Linked DNA regions of Homo sapiens: all the other regions are linked to region 3. The links are contacts of gene promoters, found by promoter capture Hi-C in human tissues and cell types (Jung and others, 2019). All regions are on one chromosome and are shown on one strand. The core of a region is centred on a gene start or on the middle of the fragment in contact, and the rest is flanking DNA. Distances in the headings are between cores, read along the strand shown.

Region 1 (4,723 bases), core at 46-2,545, 240 kb after region 3:
TATTTTTATTAAAGAGAGATAAATAAGAGATACAAGTCCAGTGGAAGAAAAAATTGAAAGCAATTTAAATCCCTACCTCAGATTCTCAAGAGGTACTCAAAGGAGAACACAGACACTGTATAGTAAATTTCCTAAAACTCTTTTTTCCTCTTATTTTACCATTTTCAATTTCTCTTATATGCCTCATTCACCCAACTCCCTTAAACCTCAGCATGCTTCTCCACCTTCTCATCTATCTAAGCTTTTTTTGAGAGATAACTCTCTATGTTTTAAAAAGGAATTCTCAGGACGGGTGCGGTGGCTCACACCTGTAATCCCAGCACTTTGAGAGGCCGAGGAGGGCAGATTACCTGAGGTCAGGAGTTCGAGACCAGCCTGGCCAACATGGTGAAACCCATCTCTACCAAAAATACAAAAATTAGCCGGGCGTGGTGGTGCATGCCTGTAATCCCAGCTACTTGGGAGGCTGAGGTAGGAGAATCACTTGAACCTGGGAGGCAGAGGTTGCAGTGAGCCAAGATGGTGCCATTGCACTCCAGCCTGGGCAACAAGAACAAAACTCAGTCTAAAAAACAAACAAACAAACAAAAACCCCAAAAGGAATTCTCACTATTTTTTTTAGCTTCTGCTTCTTAAATTCTCCCTCTCACTGAGTATTAACCCATTTTTTTTTTTTTTTTTGAGATGGAGTTTTGCTCTTGTTGCCCAGGCTGGGGTGTAATGGCGCCGATATTGGCTCACTGCAACCTCCACCTCCTAGGTTCAAGCAATTCTCCTGCCTCAGCCTCCTGAGTAGCTGGGATTACAGGCATGCACCACCACGCCTGGCTAATTCTGTATTTTTAGTAGGGATGAGGTTTCTCCATGTTGGTCAGGCTAGTCTTGAACTCCCAACCTCAGGTGATCTGCCCACCTTGGTCTCCTAAGGTTCTGGGGTTACAGGCATGAACCACTGCGCCTGGCCAGCCCAATTTCATAATATGTCCAAAGAGAATTTGGAAAGGGAGGGAGAAATAAGATGTCTGCGAACAGAAAAGAGGTTATGAATATTTATCTATTAATATTTTTCTATGTCACATACATAACATAGGAGGCTCTTAAATGTTGCCATAATAAAGTTTTTATGGATTTGAAATAAAACTGGAAGAGTTGGAATAAAGCAGTGAGTTTTTCATAAAACCCAAAGTGTTTAATTTAAAGAACTGTACTTTGTTCTGAGAGTTTTGTGCCTAGATGGTAGTTTTTTTCTAATGCCCTTATAGCACAAGGTTAAAGGAAAAAATCAAACGTTCCAACCCTAATGTTGAACTTCAAATTTAAAAAAACTAGTCTATGATATTTGAAAGCCCAAGTACCCTTGAACTAGGAGAAAAATTAAGGCAAAATATTTTTAAGACAAAAGAGATTGCAAGCTATAACTGGTGGCTTAGATAGGGAGCTGCAGGGTGATGAGGAAATGTGTACTAGTTTCCTAGGGCTGCTGTGAAACAATAGGAATGTTTTGTTTCACAGTTCTGAAGGATATATAAGTCTGAAATCAAAGTGTCAGTAGGGCTGTGATCCCTGCAAAACCTGTAGGAAAGAATGCTTCCATGCCTCTTTCTAGCTTCTGGTGGCAGCTGTCAATCCATGGCAGCCCTTGACTTGTCAATGAATCACTCCAGTCTCTGACTCCATCACATCATCACGTGGTGTTCTCCCTGTGTGTCTGTCTCTTCTTTTTTTTTTTTCTTTTTGAGACAAGGTCTGGCTCTGTCATCCAGGTTGGAGTGCAATGGTGCGATCTCAGCTTGCTGCAGCCTCCACCTCCCAGGCTTAAGTGATCCTCCCACCTCAGCTTTTGGAGTAGCTGAGATTATAGGTGTGCACTACCATGCCTGGCTAGTTTTTAAATTTTTTCTAGAGATGAGGTTTTACCATGTTTCCCATGCTGGTCTTGAACTCCTGAGCTCAAGCAATCCTCCTGCATCAGCCTCCCAAAGTGCTGGGATTACAGATGTGAGCCACTGCGCCCAGCCTCTTCTCCTCTTATTATAAATTCACTAGTTATATTGGATTAGGGCTCATCCTGTGATCTCATCTTAACTTGATTATATCAGCAAGGATCCCATATCCAAATAAAGTCATATTCATAGGTACAGCGGGTTAAGGCTTCAGCATGTCTTTTGGGGGAGATACAATTCAATCTATGACAAAGTACATAATCCAATGGGAAAGATGTTTTAGTAGAGCAGTTTTGAGTAATCTGTCCTTGAGGGAGGCATCTAAAATAGGTCCCCATTTCACAGTAAAGTACCTTCAATCTCTGAAACTTCAAGAATGTAGTTTGGAAACAACAACCTAGGAGGAGAGTTTGGAGAAGAGGGATGGAAAATAGCACCCTGAAGAAGCCAGCATTGATGGGGTAAAGACAAGAGGAGGCACTCATGAAGGAAATAGAGAATAGGTAGCCAGAGAAGTTAAAAGGGAACTGGGTGAGGGTGATGTCAAAGAAGCCACAGGCAAAGAGGGTTTCATAGAGGCAGAAGTGGTAAGGAAAGCCAAAAGCCACAGAGAGGTCAGGGAAGAAGAGGACGAAGAAGCAACTGTTGGATTTGCAAATTAGGAGGTTAGTAGTGGCCTAGAATTAAAATGTTTTCAATGGAGTGGGAGGGAAAGAAGCCAGAGAGAACTGAAGCATGAGTTAGAAAATGCGGATAACATGTGTAGTCTATTCTTTACAGAGACTTGGCCATGTAAGGAAAGAAAGAACAATGGCTGGCAAGGAGAGAGAGGTACTGTGTAAATTGTTATTATTTTGGATGGTGAGACTTGTGGGCCCAGAAGAAGGATCCAGTTGCAAACAAAAGGTCGGAAGAGCACAACCAGCAATCATTTCCAACCTTCTCCTTGCCTGCCTCTCATTATTGAGGCTGGGAAGGAAAAAAACAAACAAACAAAATACAAACAAATAAGAACTTTCCCAGACTACTGTACCCACTCTCCTTCAAGATCTGCTCTCCTTTTCTTTTCAGTAACAGAATCTGGACTCTGAGCTGGGCACATGACCATTCTAAATAAAAACTAATTTCCCAAGCTTCCCTCAACTTGTTGTGGCCTGTGGCTAAATATTGACCTATGGGTTGTAAGCAAAAGTAATATATATAATTCCAGAATGTGTTCTAGAGGAGGGAAGCTTCCTTTCTCTTACTCTTTCCTGCTGTCTGGAATGTAGATGTAATGGCTAGAACTGGAGCAGCCATCTTGGACCATGAGCTGGAAGAAGCCTAATTTCCTGAGTACTTAGTGAAGTAGAGCAGCTCCACTGGAAATTACATCCCATAGGGCAAGTAGATCTGTTCAGAAAGAGCTGGGATTTGGTGGATCAAAGTCCTGGAGGATCAAGAAAAGATGGATCCTGAAGTCCATGTATACCTACATGTATACCAGGGTTGAATAGATACATTAATTCTCTATTATAGATTATATAAATATTATGTATTCTATACATGTACAGGAATCCCTCTTTAGCCATGGTTTCACTTACCCACAGTCAATGCAGTCTGAGAATATTAAATGGAAAATTCCAGAAATAAGCAATTTGTAAGTTTTAAATTGTGTAACATCCTGAGTCACATGATGAAGTCTTGCGCTGTCCCGCTCTTACCTGCCTGGGATGTGAATCATCCTTTGTCCAGTGTTTCCACACTGTATGTGCCACCTGCCCATTCGTAATTGAGTAGCTGTCTTAGTTAGAGGTATATAGGATTTGGTGCTATCCGTGGTTTTAGGCATCTCTGGGGGTCTTTGAATGTATCCCCCTTGGGTAAGGGAGCATCTGTTGTGTTATAGAAAGCTCTATTGGACAGTGCTGCTCTAGACTTTTTAGGCATATGTTAGAGAAGGTACTTTCATCTCTCACTACTTCCTCTCCTCTCTGCCCACTCCTCCGTATCAAACACCCACCAGAGTCATTTACCTGGACTGTTTCATTTGGGGTTAAGATCAAGGGCTTTAAGACCCAATAGGTTGTAGCTACTTAACTAGTTGTATGGCCTTGGTCAAATTATTTATCCTCTTTGAACCTCAGATTCTTTGTCTATAAAATGGGAATAATAAGAGCATCTGCTTCTTAGGGTTAGTCAAAGGATTAAATGAGATAATATGGTTCCAAAGTGGCAGCAAGGAAGCAATCTGGCTTCACACCCCCCAATGGAAAACCCAAAACTAATATTCAACACTGAAATTATCACCAGCAATATCCGAGAACTCAAATATGAGGATGAGACATTTGCTGGGGCCACAGAGAAGTTTAAAAAACTCTGAGCAGATGGTAAGAGAATCAGACTTCCATATCTGTAATCCCCTCCCCACAATCTGCCAGGCACCAACTGCATGAAAATTTCCCCCAACTCACAGTCTGTACACTGTAAAAAGTGAGATCAAGGCATAGACAACCAGCTTCTCCACAATCTTGGGTTCCCTTGCAGGAGACTTGTCCCAGCCTCAACCACTAGAAGCATCAGCAGTCCCTAGAGGAGAAATATCCCTGAGAACAGCCAGAGACAAAGGGGAGAGGTGAGACTACCATCCCAGCTCTGGAAACTCTGCTGTGTAACTTGACAAAAAGAGATGGAGACACCAAATCATAGTGGCTGTTCAGCAGCACCACACTGTAGGAGGTTGGGTCCATAGGTCCCTTGGACACTGAACCCCTAGCTAGCCTTCCCAAACTACTGGGATA
Region 2 (4,347 bases), core at 311-2,810, 180 kb after region 3:
TGGGTTCATTCAAAACATGGGTGTACTTTTGGCTTGCCTGGGTACAGAATTGTGCAGAGAATCCGCATGCTTCTTATACCAAGTAACAGTTTGAACGGAGACATTGTCTATTTTGGAACTTCTATGAGAAAGCAAAGAAAGTTCGCAAGCAGGAGCAAAAGGAAAATCAGGGTTTAGCAGGAGAGCTGGAAGTGATGGATACAGGTGAATTCCAGTTGATGACTTAAGCTGATTTTTTTTTTTAAGAGACAGGTTCTCACTACATTGACCAGGCTGGTCTGGAACTCTTGAGCTCAAGCAGTCCTCCTGCTTCAGCTTCTGAGCAGTTGGGGCTACAGGTACATGACACTGTGTACAGCTTTACTAAGCTGATCATCATTCCAGGGATAAATTAGGTTGTAAGTCAGGGTTGCCTGTGGTACTATATTTGAAGATTATGCACTTAAAAAGAAAGAGGCATATGCTTTAGATTCATTTCCTTGTCGCTATTGGCCTTATGCTTATATCACTTATGGAAGATGGATAGGGAAATCTTGAATCGTGGACAAATTGTGGGAAAGTTTCCAAATCAAGAAATATAGGCTGGTTGCGGTGGCTGATGCCTGTAATCTCAGCATTTTGGGAGGCTGAGGTAGGTGGTTTGTTTGAGCCCAGGAGTTCCAGACCAGCCTGGGCAACATAGCAAAACCCTGTCTCTGCTAAAAATACAAAAAAATTGGCCAGGCATGGTGGTGCATGCCTGTAGTCCAGCTACTCAGGAGGCTGAGGTGGGAGGATTGCTTCAGCCTGGGAGGTGGATTCTGCAGTGAGCTGTGATCACGCCACTGCACTCCAGCCTGGGCCACAGAGTAAGACCCTGTCTCAAAAAAATAATTAATTTTTTAAAAAAGAAATATAAATTCTCTTTTAGTAAGCTTAAGGCTATGAAAAGTATAATTGATGCATCATCCTGTGACAGTTTATAAGTGTTGAATCTGTTACGTTTGTTAGTACTTTGAAAAGTATTGAAAAACTGTTTTTCTCCTCATAGATGGATGGTGACAGTTCTACAACAGATGCTTCTCAACTAGGAATCTCTGCAGACTATATTGGAGGAAGTCATTATGTTATACAGCCTCATGATGGTAAGCAAGCCACAATTAGAACCAAATTCTCAAGTTGAAGCAAGTTAGAAAGTGGACATTTCATTAATATGGTGTTCTAGGCTACTTGTGTCTTTATAGGAAAATTTACAATCTTGTGTTACGGTTCAATGAGAAAGTCTAAAAAGGCGTACCATGCTATTTTTATTAGAAATAGTCTTCAAAAGAATGAGTCCTTGAAAAGACTTTTACTATAAAAATACACCTTGTCTAAAATCTGTACAGTTTCTTTTAAAATTTGTTATCGACTTCCTGTTTAAATGTTAAATAAGAAATTTATAATCAATTGATAGGGTAACTAAAATAATTATTTAGAGGGTGAGTTAAATTTCTAGCTATTATATTTCTTGCACTTATGATTTATTTTTGGTTTTCATTCAATATTAACTTTGAACTATGTCAGGTATTAGAATGGTAGTGTTGGCTCAGTGTGGTGCTCACACCTATAATCCCAGCAGTTTGGGAGGGCAAGGTGGGCAGATCACTTGAGCTCAGGAGTTCGAGACCAGCCTGGGCAACATGGTGAAACCCCACCTCTACAAAAAAATTAAAAAATTAGCTGTGCTTGGTGGCATGTACCTGTAGTCCCAGCTACTTAGGGGGCTGGGGGCTGAGGTGGGAGGATTGCTTGAATCTGGGAGGTAGAGGCTTCAGTGAGCCATGTTTGCACCACTGCACACTCCAGCCTGGGTGACAAAGTGCAAAGTGAGACCCTGTCTCCAAAAAAAAAAAAAAAAAAAAAGGCAGTGTTATGTTGGCCTATCAGAAATAATTTACTTTTGTGGCATTTTGGTTTGTAAAAAAAATTTTTTTTTTTTTTTTATTTTTTATTTTTTTTGAGATGGAGTCTTGCTCTGTCGCCCAGGCTGGAGTGCAGTGGCACAATCTTGGCTCACTGCAACCTCCGCCTCCTGGGTTCAAGCAATTCTCCTGCCTCAGCCTGCCCGTTAGCTGAGATCACAGGCGCCCAGCACCATGCCCAGCTAATTTTTTTTTAGTAGAGACAGGGTTTCGCTGTGTTGGTCAGGCTGGTCTCAAACTCGTGACCTCAGATGATCTGCCTGCTTCAGCCTCCCAAAGTGCTGGGATTATAGTCATGAGCCACCACGCCTGGCCTGATTTGTAAAATTTTTAAAAATTGAGATATATTTTTAGAAGAAACTTGCCAGAGGGATTAATTTCATCCTGAAACGGATATTCAAATAAATTAATTCTGATAACATCATTTTAAACACATAAAAACGTAAATTGAATCAACTTAAGTGCCTTGCCTCCTTACTTAGTACATATGAAGAGTGGGCAGTTTACTTACAGGATACTGCATTTAGTCATAAAAGGATGTTATTGGTACTGCGCAAGCTTCAGTTATAGCTAAATTTATATAATTTGAAAAGTCCCTTTTTGTATGAACAGTTGGATCACTGCTCTAGCTTTGTTCAAAAACTAGTTACATTAGTAAGCCAACTGGATCAGTAATAATCAAGTCCAGTTTTTCCATTCTTTAAAGAATTTTATATAAACTTTATACAGACAAGACAACTTTATATCAACTTTAAAAGTTTTATATAGACTTTTACATAAATGAGTTTATATAAACTTGGGTTTGGAGAAACATACAACCTCTTAATCTAGCAGTATTGAAGGAGCCATAGGTTACGGTCTGTAAGTTTTATAGCTAAGTCGTATAATAAATATTTATGAGTACCTACTCTGTGGAAGGTGCTGTACCAAGCTGTAGGAAACACAAAGCTGATTCGTGACATTAAGTAGCAAAAATCTAATAGGAGAAATGAGGAATAATAAAAATTCTAAAAATGTGTAAGAGAAAAGGCATAGAGAAGCACTTACATTTTATGAAAGAAAAGATCATTTTTGAAGGTGGTATGGAGATGTTATTTGAGATTTTTGGAGAATGGGCAAGTAGGATTTTAGCAGGTATATTTGAGGATAAAAAGTGTTCTAGGCAGTGAGTCTGAAATTAATAAAAAAAAAGTTCAGTTCTGGCTCTGTAAAAATTATGAAGAGACTTGCTATCCTAATCCCTAAATAATGGTTAAGAGGTGAACCAGAATGATTTTATTCTGGATCACTTTGGTAGTTTTTTCTATCTTGAAATAGAAATAATAAGAAGCTTTACACCTAAATATTTTTATTTCTTTAGATACTGAGGACAGCATGAATGATCATGAAGACACAAATGGTTCAAAAGAAAGTTTCAGAGAACAAGATATATATCTTCCAATAGCAAACGTGGCTAGGATAATGAAAAATGCCATACCTCAAACGGGAAAGGTAACGTAGAGGAGAAATTTAACTAGGTTTTTTCAAGGGAAACACGAAACTACATGAATTCATAGGTCATGGGTACAGTTAGCTGTTGATTTCAATCATTCAGGCTTTCAGCAAATCAAATATTTCTTTCATGTCTACATACACAGTTACTGAACAGTGTCCCATTTTCAATTCTGTCATGTCCCTAAATGTTCTCCTCTCTCCCACTTATTGGAGGCAGATAAAATAGAATTTAGACTGTTTTTTTTTTTTTTTTTTTTTTTTGGGGACAGAGTTTCACTCTTATTGGCCAGGCTGGAGTGCAATGGTACAATCTCCGCTCACTGCAACCTCCGCCTCCCAGGTTCAAGCAATTCTCCTGCCTCAGCCTCCCGAGTAGCTGGGATTACAGGCGTGCACCACCATGCCCAGCTAATTTTGTATTTTTGGTAGAAATGGGGTTTCTCCATGTTGGTCAGGCTGGTCTTGAACTCTCGACCTCAGGTGATCCATCCGCCTTGGCCTACCAAAGTGCTGGGATTATAGACATGAGCCACTGTGCCTGGCCCGACTGTTTTAAAAAATAGGTACGTTGTCAGAACTATCAGGTTTGGGTGTATGAAGCTGTAACTTTTTTTTTTTTTTTTGAGACGGAGTTTCGCTCTTGTTGCCCAGGCTGGAGTGCAGTGGCGTGATCTCGGCTCATTGCAACCTCCACCTCCCAGGTTCAAGCGATTCTCCTGCCTCAGCCTCCCCTGGTAGCTGGGATTACAGGCACGAGCCACTGTGCCCGGCCTGAAGCTGTAACTTCTCCCATCCAAGTACTAACCAGGCCCGACCCTGCTTAGCTTCCGAGATCAGACGAGATCGGGCGCGTTCAGGGTGGTATGGCCGTAGACTGAAGCTGTAACTTCTATAATGTTGCAGTAAATTT
Region 3 (4,810 bases), core at 2,053-4,552:
TATTAACTTTAGAGAAGACCAAAAAAATTACCTCTCCTAAGCCTCCAGATTCTCTATTAATGCTTTTAAATCATCACTGTCAAATACTCCTAGTAAAGACATGAGACATTCAACAGAGCAACTGAATGTCAGTAAAGTACTGGGGCGGGATCTTTTTGCTGTCATTAAGAGTACTTTTTCTTCCAACAGCAGATCTCTGCAAAACCCAAGGAACTTGGTTGGTAGAGACATGCTGGAAATGAGGATGAGTGAGATCAAATGGTGCTTCCATGACTGCTACTATAAATCAAAGGATACTAGACACTAGCAAGGGTCAGCGCTCTTTCATATGTGAAAGGAGTAACTAATTTAGAAAATAATTTGCCAAGTTTCATGAGAAAGTTCTATTTTTGCTAAAACCTCTACTCTATTATTGGTGAAGAACCTCATCTCCATACATGAAAAATCCTTCCTCTCAGTCTTGGTGTCATTTGTTGAGTCTTTGGATTTCCCTTTCCTGTACCACTAGACTTACTAGGAAAGTTTGCCACTGCTATGCATAACAGATACCTAAACATTTGCCAAAGTATTGTTTAATGGCAAAATTCCACGACTACCAAAAATTAAGCTCCTATAGGGATCAAGGGGAAGAAAGCTTATGGGTATGCTTACTGCACCTTCTCAAGTTACTTTCTTAATGACCCAAACTTTTGGCAATAATCTCCAAATAAGGTTGTAATTTATGCAACGGAAAGAAAAAAGCCTTTATGGCTTTACACTAAGTGAAGAACATCCAGATAAACTAACATGTTTTAGTTTCAGCAAGGTCAGTTTCCTGGCATTTAAAGCCCTATTAAGAAATGCAAAATTTGGCTCACACTTGTAATCCCAGCATTTCCGGAGGCCGAGGCGGGTGGATCACTTGGGGCCAGGTGTTCGAGACCAGCCTGGCTACCATGGCGAAACTCTGTTCCTACTAAAAATACAAGTATTTGCTGGGTGTGATGGCACACACCTGTAATCCCGGCTACTTGGGAGGCTGAGGCACAAGAATCGCCTGAACCCCGCAGGCAGAGGTTGCAGTGGGCCGAGATTGCACCACTGCACCCCAGCCTGGGCAAGAGTGATACTCTGTCTCGAGGGGGAAAAAAAAAGATAGAAATGCAAAATTAAAGTGGGACAAATATTCAAAGTTGTTACATGATGAAAAAGCGTAGATTGTGAAGGACATTCTATGTACTAGCAAAGACCACAAAGGGACACTAGGGGCCAGAGAAGAAATTCAGTAGATAAAAACTACAACTGGATAGCAAGATCTTGTGTTCAATGTATAATAGTTTGACAAAAACATCTTCTCAGGATATTAATAGATGAAGTTATTCAATTGTTGCCCAGCTTATCAAATATAATAGTTTTTCCATAAATCTAATGGTCCTCTCGTGCCTAACTTCTAACAATTCCATGCATTTGACCTTGCTATTCTCTTGCCTAGAATGCCTTTTCCTTCTTCGTGTTTCTACTCACCTTTCACCCTTAGCTGATACCTCAACTACTACAGCAGAGACACTACTTTTGCTGAGTACAATAACAGAAATTGTTTAGAATATGGATACTCACTCATAAATCCTAAGTCTTCCTTGCAATGACTTTTTTAGTCTTAATGTTGCATATTCACTGCCTTACAGACAGGTTTTTTTTTTTAACTTTTGTTTTTTACCCACTCTTTGCCCAACCTGGTTAGGAACCCTTTCTGGGATTCTCTTGGTTCCCTATGACAGAGAAAGCAACGCATCACAGAGCATCATCACTGATTTTCGTAAATTATTATGTTTTGCAAATTATCAAATATCCCTTAATTTGGTATCCAAAACTTGTTTTTATTAATAGTCTTAAAGGGCATTCAATAAAACGTTCCCATAAATATGCCAGTGAATTTGTTTTAATAACAGAAGATCATGACCTTATAAATTACTAAGAAAAATATGCTGCACAGTAAAACAATGTCTGATGTTCTTGAAAATACTTTTTCACTTTACAAGAGATACAATATGTGCTTCAGTTTACATTTTACTCTCCATCTAACTTCAGAAAAAAAACACAAAAAGGATGCTATACTAAGAAATCTTTAGTATGAGGAGTATGTAATCATAGCCTCAGAAATTTCAAAAGCTGCCACAATGTTTTTCCACTCCTGTAAAGTCAAAGATATAACTCCCTGTTTCCTGCCATGGCAACTGGAATCATTTCCCTCACCCATTTGGTTAACATTCATCGGCTCTAATATTGGCAGCCTGTCTTCATCAAGCCTTATTCTTGCAAAACCATCTCTTACAATAAAAGAAACATAAAATATATTCTCCACAGTACGAGAAAAAGAGTTTGGATCAATCACAAACTCAAAATAGGACACAGGAGTATCAGGATACTTTCGAAAGTAGGTTTGCAACAATCCCAAAATCCTTTCTACGTTTTTTTCTGTCGCTTCTGGATAACTACTCAGGTCCAACTTCTGCAACTTTGTAGGCATGTTGCCATTTTCTTCCATCTTGCGAACTTTTTTCTGGTGTTCAAGTCGGGGCTTTGGTGCAGAACGTTCTAGCTTGAATGAACCAAAAACAAAATGGAATGTCTCAGCTTTTACCATCCAGGATGTTGCTTCCTTTTCTATTGCCTTCCAGAAGGAAAGAGCTATGCTATCATCACAATCACTCAACTTGTCAGGATCGCCTTCCATCCAATTCAGACCCACGAACAGAAACAGAAAGTCACAAAATGCTAACTGATTAAAGAAGTTCATATCTGAGTTTAACTGCTTTGCCTTTTCTTTACCCAAATCAGAAGCCATAACAAGAAACCGGGCGTCGAGGGCTGCTTCTCTGGTTCGGCTCACGCCATCAAAGAGGACGTTGGCTTCCTCCAGAGCCTCGGTTAAGGAGTTGTTCGCCGAGCTCACGATGTCCTCCCGGTTCTGCCGCACGCAGTACATGAGCTGCCGGTACTGCCTGCGGATGCTGCGGCACTTCTCCTCGTCAGCGGTGAGCTCCAGGAGCTTTGGGTCTACGTCGGCCTCCCCAGAGCTGAGGTCGTCGGAGCAGCCCGCGGCCCTCACTGACACATCCATCTTCATCAGCGCTCCCTCCGCCGCCGCCTACTTCGCCGCGTACTCGCTACCGGGGATGATCACGAGCTGCTCCTCTCCTTTCTCTTCGTCTCCCTTCCGGGAAGCTTTTTCAACCAACATGCCGGCCACGGGTATCTCTGAGGTAACGGCCCTCCCAGCGTGTGGAAAGTGGCGGCAGTTAGAGCCGAGGACGCCCGCCCATGCGCACTAGCGGCCCGGCCCGGCGCGACCCGCCCCCAGCACGCTCCGCGGGAAGACAGCCCCGCCCCGGCCCGGCCCAGCCACAAGCCGAGGCGCTCGCTCATAGACCAGCGCGGCGCTCCCAACACGCGCAATGATGGGCCCTGACCTCACACGCGACTAATGCCCGCTCAGGGGACAGCTATTCTTTTTCAAAGCGTTTACCGACTGGATCACCTCACTTTAAAAAAAAACACTTTTGGACAACTTTACACAAAACTATTGAGGAGACTAAAGGTCCTGCGCTTTAAAACGCTCGCTGCCATCATATACTGCAGTGAGGTCGACCTGGTTTTGGTTTTTTGTGAACTAAATCTGGCTGGACTGTAAACCGTCGGTAAGGCCAAGGACCGTGAAAAGCAGAAACTCCATTAAGCAGGCTAAACTCTCAGTTCTTTTGCAAGGTGGTGTTTGGACTCATTATACAAATGTAAATCGGGTTAATTACTTTCACATGTCCTCTTAAAAACCAAGCCCCCTCCAATACCCATCCTGAGTATCTGTGGGATCGGGGGAGCCTCCAATATCCGTGCTAACCCCTGCAGGAAACTGGGTGCTGGGCACGGGCATTACTCAGGTGAACTTTGGTTCTCCACTACCCAGGAGTGGAAGAATAGAATGGGTAGAGATCTCTGCAAAAGAGCTATTTACTTGGAAGCTTGCCAACAGCTAAAGGCCACCGACACTGAATGGGTAGTAACTCTGAACCCTAAAAGGTGGGCAAAGCTATGAAAATTTCAGATACAGTCTAAGGATATGAAAGCTTAATCTGTAAACTGGGTGAGTAATCTGCGTGGGAAAATTTACCCATTGGATTTAATGGGGTCACTGGAAACTCAAGTGCAGTTAAAGACGTGACTCCTTATCTGTCTCACCAGCAGCAAATAGCAAAGTATACATAACAATGGGAATGGCCGGGCGCGGTGGCTCACGCCTGCAATCCCAGCACTTTGGGAGGCCGAGGCGGGCGGATCACGAGGTCAGGAGATCGAGACCATCTTGGCTAACCCGGTGAAACCCCGTCTCTACTAAAACTACAAAAAATTAGCCGGGCGCGGTGGCAGGCGCCTATAGTCCCAGCTACTCGGTAGGCTGAGGCAGAAGAATGGCGTGAACCCAGGAGGCGGAGTTTGCAGTGAGCCGAGATCGGGCCACTGCACTCCAGCCTGGGCTATAGAGCGAGACTCCGTCTCAAAAAAAAAAAAAAAAAAAAAGGGAATGAATACATCTGGTTTTTAAAGAGAACATGCACACAAACAACCCATGAGCATCAACAGCTTTTCAAACCTGCAACAGGTACACCTTAAAAAAAAAAAGACACCCACAATTGCACCTGTCCAATTGCCAGTTTCATAGCACCAGGAAGTAAATTAGCCCTACCTTCCTTTATGCATATAGACTTGTTCTATTTCTTTAGCATTAGCAGAAAGTTTTTTGTAAATGTATAAACAGCAAAATCTAGTAGTATTA

The links. The method cuts DNA at HindIII sites, captures the fragments that hold promoters and counts their contacts. A contact is called where the count stands out against the background at its distance.
Region 1: a fragment that was not itself captured here is called in contact with the fragment with the promoter of EID3 in region 3 in 1 of the 25 tissues and cell types used here (hippocampus).
Region 2: a contact is called between a fragment that was not itself captured here and the fragment with the promoter of EID3 in region 3, in 3 of the 25 tissues and cell types used here (IMR-90 fibroblasts, dorsolateral prefrontal cortex and mesenchymal stem cells).

Annotation. Positions count from the first base shown.
Region 1 is chr12:104,057,936-104,062,658 of GRCh38, reverse strand. It overlaps a transcript of GLT8D2 not described here. Among named protein-coding and RNA genes, the nearest start is that of HCFC2, 4.2 kb to the left of the region's middle. RefSeq lists a cis regulatory region at 9 and an enhancer at 1-94. The HindIII fragment of the contact is 3,662 bases long and covers 1-3,126 here.
Region 2 is chr12:104,125,201-104,129,547 of GRCh38, reverse strand. It overlaps NFYB (nuclear transcription factor Y subunit beta), which reads left to right. Exons shown (of 8, transcript NM_006166.4): 3 at 1,031-1,124; 4 at 3,304-3,434. It also overlaps the pseudogene RNA5SP370. Among named protein-coding and RNA genes, the nearest start is that of NFYB, 11 kb to the left of the region's middle. The HindIII fragment of the contact is 6,155 bases long and covers 1-4,347 here.
Region 3 is chr12:104,302,231-104,307,040 of GRCh38, reverse strand. EID3 (EP300 interacting inhibitor of differentiation 3) reads right to left here and starts at 3,302. Exons shown (of 1, transcript NM_001008394.3): 1 at 1,836-3,302. The coding sequence starts at 3,106. The coding sequence ends at 2,105. All of the region lies in intron 4 of TXNRD1 (thioredoxin reductase 1), which reads right to left. RefSeq lists enhancers at 2,865-2,924, 2,955-3,194, 2,502-3,374 and a silencer at 3,235-3,464. The HindIII fragment of the contact is 3,401 bases long and covers 1,920-4,810 here.